2 separate regions of the Homo sapiens genome follow, and region 2 is linked to region 1. The links are contacts of gene promoters, found by promoter capture Hi-C in human tissues and cell types (Jung and others, 2019). All regions are on one chromosome and are shown on one strand. The core of a region is centred on a gene start or on the middle of the fragment in contact, and the rest is flanking DNA. Distances in the headings are between cores, read along the strand shown. Region 1 holds the start of EMC4 (ER membrane protein complex subunit 4). Region 2 overlaps GOLGA8B (golgin A8 family member B).

Evidence for each region. The method cuts DNA at HindIII sites, captures the fragments that hold promoters and counts their contacts. A contact is called where the count stands out against the background at its distance.
Region 2: a contact is called between a fragment that was not itself captured here and the fragment with the promoter of EMC4 in region 1, in 1 of the 25 tissues and cell types used here (lymphoblastoid cells).

The regions. Positions count from the first base shown.
Region 1 is chr15:34,223,505-34,227,011 of GRCh38, forward strand. EMC4 (ER membrane protein complex subunit 4) reads left to right here and starts at 1,512. Exons shown (of 5, transcript NM_016454.4): 1 at 1,512-1,696; 2 at 2,032-2,146. The coding sequence starts at 1,611. RefSeq lists an enhancer at 1,826-1,875. The HindIII fragment of the contact is 15,250 bases long and covers 52-3,507 here.
Region 2 is chr15:34,575,691-34,579,197 of GRCh38, forward strand. The region is part of intron 1 of GOLGA8B (golgin A8 family member B); the gene reads right to left. Among named protein-coding and RNA genes, the nearest start is that of GOLGA8B, 6.2 kb to the right of the region's middle. The HindIII fragment of the contact is 3,792 bases long and covers 1-3,249 here.

The sequences.
Region 1 (3,507 bases), core at 262-2,761:
ACCTAGCACTTTGGGAGGCCGAGGCAGGCAGATCACCTGAGGTCGGGAGTTCGAAACCAGCCTGACCAACACGGTGAAATCCCATCTCTACTAAAAATACAAAATTAGCTGGACGTGGTGGCGTGCGCCTGTAATCCCTGGTACTCGGGAGGCTGAGGCAGGAGAATTGCTTGAACCCGGGAGACGGAGGTTGCAGTGAGCCGAGATAGTGCCATTGCACTCCAGCCTGGGCAACAAAAGCAAAACTCCGTCTCGAACAAAAACACAAACAAACCAAACACCAGATATGTGGTGGGCACTAATCTCACAAGCCTTGAAAGTAGGTAGATTATCCAACTTTTACATGAAGAGGCTGAAACAAATTCAACTTGCCCAAGGTCATACAATTATTAAGTGGTGAAACCAGGATTCAAAAGGAGGCCATCTGCTGGGTGCAGTGGCCCATGCCTTTGTAATCTCAACATTTTGGGAGGCCAAGGCAGGAGAATCACTTGAACCCAAGAGTTTGAGAGCAGCCTGAGCAACATAGCGAAACCCTGTCAAAACAAAACAAAACAAAACAAAACAAGACTGGGGCGTGGTGGCGCGCCCTGTGGTCCTAGCTCCTCGGAACGCTCAGGTTGGAAGGAACGCTCAGGTGGGAAGATCGCTTGAGCCGGGGAAGTCGAGGCTGCAGTGAGCCGTGATAGCGCCACTGCACTACAGCCTCGGCAACGGAGTGAAACCCTGTCTCAAAAAACAAACCCAAAACAAACAACAACAAACGCAGGCTAACTGAATACCGAGCCCATGTCCCCTTCCATGCCCACAATGCTGCCTTGCCTTTGTGCAGAATGTGGTTAGAACTGTTTACCTCGCAAGGTTACTGTGCAAGTGAAATGAAATAAACACATGACACAGTGGACATTCAATACTCAGAAACTACTAAGTAACTCGCTCAAGGTCAAGCTAGGATTTAAACCCAGGATTTGAATCTTTTGTTCCAGGGAGCGCGTAGGAGGTTAAGAAGCTTTTCTTGGCTTCCTTTTTTTTTTTTTTGAGACAGAGTTTCGCTCTTGCTGCCCAGGCTGGCGTGCAATCGCTCGGTCTCAGTTCACTGCAACCTCCGGCTCCCGGATCCAAGCGATTCTCCTGCCTCAGCCTCCTAAGTAGCTGGGATTACAGGCGCCCGCCACTAAGCCCGGCTAATATTTTGTATTTTTAGTAGAGACGGGGTTTCACCATGTTAGCCAGGCTGGTCTCGAACTCCTGACTTCAGGTGATCCGCCCACCAATTCTTAACGCTGAGTCAGTATGGGCTTTCCTTCAGCCCCATAAAGTGCACCTCAGAGGTCAGGGAACACATAACAAGGACATTCAAAAGGGGAGCGCGCGGAAGTGGCTTTAGGAAGCACTAAGTCTTGCCTGGTTTTTTTTCCTCCCTGCTTTTCTAAATCCAAACCCGGACTCCTCAACCCACAGCACCACCAATTTCCAGGGCGGAAATGACGTCGTATTCACGCGCCGGAAGTGCATTTGCAGAGTGAGACAAAGCGGAGAACGCTGGTGGGCCTGTTGTGGAGTACGCTTTGGACTGAGAAGCATCGAGGCTATAGGACGCAGCTGTTGCCATGACGGCCCAGGGGGGCCTGGTGGCTAACCGAGGCCGGCGCTTCAAGTGGGCCATTGAGCTAAGCGGGCCTGGAGGAGGCAGCAGGTGAGGCACCTGGGCAAGCTGTACATCACTGTTCATCCCAGAACTGCACCAGAGTAATGAGACCTGAGCCCTCAGGCATAACTCTGAAAAAGATGGGTGGCACACAGACATCACCTGGGGAGGTAGCGGCTTTTCTGCCGTGGAAGTTTCTCTGCTCAAACAATGCTTACATCAGTCCTCCTGATAAGTCAAAGGACTGAGGAACATACGAGGGGGCTTGGTCTAATCTGAGTAGGTGCATCTGAAGATCTTTATTCCTATGATTGGTAGATCAGGAAATGTGGGATAAGAAGTATCGGAGGTTGCAGCTTTAGTTTCTTGGTTTGGTTTTTTAGGGGTCGAAGTGACCGGGGCAGTGGCCAGGGAGACTCGCTCTACCCAGTCGGTTACTTGGACAAGCAAGTGCCTGATACCAGCGTGCAAGAGACAGACCGGATCCTGGTGGAGAAGGTACAGAGGTATAGATGTTACCGTAGCCCATGGGCCAGTCCTGAGTTACACACTCATCCTCTTCTCCTAGGTGGAGTTAACGTAGATAGCTCTTATCCTGAAGATTTGGAAACTAAACTGCTTGAGGCTGGTATTTCGGTATTTTATATATCAGCTACAAAAGTGCTTAATAATTTGAAAAATAGAAGATGTTTGGAACATAAGGTATAAGAAAGTAGGTTGAAAACTATCTTTTGGTGGCAACATCTTCCAGTTGAAGTGATCCTTTTTCTACTCTGGTTCCCTTACACCACATATCCAACTGTCAGGATACTCTGTTGGCTTTACCTACTACTTTTTCCTGTGTTCACCTCTCATCCTAATCCAAGCCACCATCCTTCATCTAGATTTCTGCAGTAGCCCGGCTAATTTTTGTATTTTTAGTACAGACAGGGTATCACCATGTTTGCCAGGCTGGTCTTGAACTCCTGACCTCAGGTGATCCATCCGCCTTGGCCTTCCAAAGTGCTGGGATTGCAGGCATGAGCCACCGCGCTCGGCCCGGGGCTATTTATATTTCTAATTTCTCCTGTCATTTTGTTACATTTTTTCTAGAAACTTATCCATTTCCTAAAATTTCAAATGTATTGATATAAAGTTGTTCATAATATGATCACTTCCATATATGCAAGATCTGTGATGTTCATTTTTTCATTCCTGATATTGAATATTTTGTCTCCTCTCCTTTCTTCATCAGGCTCACCAGTATTGATTTTTTAAAAATTATTTTCATTTATTTTTACAGGTCACTGTACCCATCACCAGTATTGATTTTATTAATCTTTTCAAAAATACTTGGGTTTTTTTCTAGTTTCTTGAAATGGATGCTTAGTTTATTTTTAGACTGCCATTACTTTTTTTCTTTTCTTTTGAGACAGTCTTGCTGTTGTCGCCGAGGCTGGAATGCAATAGCACGACCTTGGCTCACTGCAACCTCTGCCTCCCAGGGTCAAGCAATTCTCCTGCCTCAGCCTCCCGAGTAGCTGGGATTATAGGCACCCACCACCACGTCCAGCTAATTTTTTTGTATTTTTAGTAGAGACGGGGTTTCACCACGTTGGCCAGGCTGGTCTGAAACTCCTGACCTCAGGTGATCCACCAAGCTCGGCCTCCCAAAGTGCTGGGATTACAGGTGTGAGGCACCGCGCCCGGCCACATTGCCATTACTTTTAATGGCAACAACCGCAGTTACTTTTGCAGCAACCTGGTAGTATGTATTTAAGGTTATAAATTTCTCAGAACTCTAGCTGTGTCCCACGAGTTTTAAAATGTGGTACTTTTGCTATCATATAAATCTATTTTCCATTATAATTTCTTCATGT
Region 2 (3,507 bases), core at 104-2,603, 350 kb after region 1:
CCACTCTTCTAGGATGGGGTCCATGATCCACCCCAACCTACCGTGGGGCTCTCACATCTTCCAGATTGTGCCTCTCTAGGAGGGCCTTGGACCCAGAGCCAGAATGGGGCTCTGATGCCATTGCACATTCTCCAGCAACCCCTTCCATGCCCTCCCTCCTGATCCCACCCAGCTCTAAACTGGGAACAAGAAAGCTGGAATATAGTAGCTGCTTGGAAAATACCTACTGAGTGCATGGGTGGATAGATGGACAGTGCTCCAGGCAAAGGGACTCGGGGGTAAGAAAAGTGAAGGGTACCTGCTCCCGGTTGTACCACTGCAGAGTCCCTGAGTGTCAAAGGACTGAGAGGTGAATGACGGGACGGGCAAGGTGAGACCTACCAGGTTAGCGTCCCGCACCCCTTTGTTTCCACTATTAGATTAAGCCACCCTATGTGATGGATAAAAGGAGCAACACATACAAGGAGTTAGGCCAGGGTTGCCAAAGTGAGGGGTGGGAATGCTGCCAGTCCAGGGGTCCCCCACGGCAGCTCCCCAAATGAAGTCAAGACAAGTTGGAGATGAGGCTGCCTCTAGGTGTATCAAATCAACTGAAGTAGCACCAGTCCTCAGTGCTGATTAAGCACAGGCACGCCTGTGATCAAGAAGAAAACCATTACTTAATAAAATGCAATTAATTTAGAAGCTGAAAACTGCGAAAGCCCAAGGGAAAGACACAATCAGGAGTTCTTGGTCTGGAGGGGCTTCTGCTCTCAAAGCTTCCAACCCAACACAGCACAAAGACGTCTTCCCCAACAACCACACATCCCACCTGCAAAACGATGACATGCTCCTCTCCAGGTACCTGAACCTTAGGACTCAAAGGGTAGAGAAAGTTCACAGGCAGAATCTTCACAATACATGCACAAAAGAAAGGCACTTCTAGTAGGAGCTGTGGGTCAGGAAAACCTCGATTTCACCCAATGCCATTCCCGAGAGAATCAACCATCAATGTGACCCATTCAGTCCTGCCTCAGGGGCTCAGAATCTAGCAGTCAGGCCAGGTGGGAAGTGCAGGGACCTGTGGCCAAAATCGGTCCATTCATCACTCAGCTGACAGCTTTCACGCGTACCAGCCAGAATCAGTTAGAGGCTGGAGGTAGTGCCAAGTGTCTGAAACCCAGCAGGCAGGTTGGTAAAACACTCACACATCCTAACCCTGGTGACTGCACTGACTGACTGCTTTCCTGTAGCAGAACAGTTGCACACATCTCATCTCCTCCATCCATAATAACTCAGTGGCTGGTGAGGAATGGGACACAGACCTCCACGTGCCCTTCTTGGGATGAGTCAAGACAAACTCTGAGCAGTGACGCTCTACAGCTGGCTCACACGTGCAGGCAGAGCCTGGCTTCCCAGAGCTTCCAGTTCCTAACACATGCCTGGCCCCACTGCACCACACCCGTGACAGCTGCCACCAGCTCCGGATAATTCAGACAGATGCTAGAGCACATGGCTCACTTATTACACCAAAAGACTGAGAAACAGAAACTGTGTTTTAATTGCACAATGCACACACTTGCTTCCAGAGAGACCTGAGAAATCCATCATCCCTAAATGCATGCGGTTACTCAACTAGTGGCTTTACTATTTTTGAAACAATAGATTTTTCCAAGACAGCTGATAATCAAACCAACTGCGGGAAACCATAAACGATACTTGTTTATTAAATTAAGAACACATACAACAGTTCAGAGGAATCCATATTTAGAGCTGCCTTGCTGGAGAATCAATTCCAGGAATGCCAAACCAACCAAATGAAAAAAATTATATATCATACACACACACACACACACACACACACACACACACACACACACACACACACACAGATGCGTCACTTAATGACAGGGATGTATTCTGAGAAATTTATCATTAGGCAATTTCATCATTATGAGAACATCATAGAGCATACATTATACAAACCTACTACAACACACTAGGTTATAGGGTACAGCCTACTGCTCCTAGGCTGCAAACCTAGGCAGCATGTTACTGTGCTGAAGGTGTGTATCTAAACATAGAAAAGGCACAAAGTTAAAATATGCTATAAAAGATAAAACATGGTGCCCCTGTCTAGGGCACTTTCTATGAATGGACCTTCCATGAATGGAAGTTGCTCCGGTGAGTCAGTCTGTACACTAGTGCAGACTTTATAAACATTGTACAGTTAGGCTACATTTTTTTAAAAAATAAAGTAACTGCACTACAACTTTACGACAATGTCACTAGGCAATAGGAATTTTTGAGCCCCATGATATTCTTATGGGACCTCTGTCATATACGCTATCACTCACAAAAACAATGTCATGTGATGCATGACAGTACATATGTATCTCAACTGAAAATCCTAAATGTCAGTAGTGTTCTCTGACTCACTATTTACTAGTAAGTTTCCTCAGAACTGTCTTTGCCTGAGAGTTTCACAACCAAGCGTCTCTCTGCACAGTTGATTCTAGGGACAAGAAGTGCTAAGAATCCATGTTGGCTTCAAGTGCAAAATGGAAAACACCTTAGTGTCCCACCAACCATGTTAGCCACCTTCCTGGAGGGCAAGCTCCCACGCCCTTTCCCCATCGCTGTGAAGAGCTCACGTCATCTGTGGCATTTCCATAACTCTCCGATGCCAGCCATCAGTCTCTCAGCACGTGTTGAAAATTAGCCCCTGTACTTGCCCACCAATGGTCATAAGTCCTAGTCATGCCCACCCCGTTAAAAACAAATCTGATACAAAATGGGCCCCAGCAGGAGACAGAGAGAAAACATGGGCCTCACACTCTCTCCAGCTCAGGCTCAAAGGCCAGCACTGCCCCGTCACAGCAGAGTGCTCTTAGGCAACCCATAGCTCAGCTACCTGTCCCCAGCCTCCTCGTCGCGAAGTTAAGACAAGACCTGCCTTCTGGATTTGTAGGGAAATTATTTAAAATGACAAACAAAGAGGGATGGAACTCAACACACAGAATTGCCCGATGATGCGTGTTTCATTCCAGTGGTTTCGCCATGAAAACCATCTTTAAATGTTGGAGTGTTTCCGTTTCCAGACAACTAGAGATGAAAATATTTCCACAGTCACTCAACGCAGGTATCTCAACCACATATTTTTTTCTCTTAATTTTGATCCTTGAAACACAAAACAACAGATGCACCACCTTACATTAAAACAGCCCTTTAGAGTTTATGACAGGCCTCCTCTGCATTCTCTCACTAGGCCGTAGCTGTAACTCACAAACCTGACCCTTAAAACTCCCAGGACAATAAGAGAAGCCACACCATGGAGTCCTTGCTATCATAAAATATCTCGCATCAGTTCAATATCGCATCTCGTCTGTGCCTCAAAACAACCACAGGCAAGAGGCCTCATGCGCACATTGCAGATGCTGAGAAAGACTCTCAAGCCAGAAGACTGGCCCTGGACCCCAGGGTTTAGTGGCAGGGCCAGGCTGGAACTGAGCTCCTGTTACTCCAAAT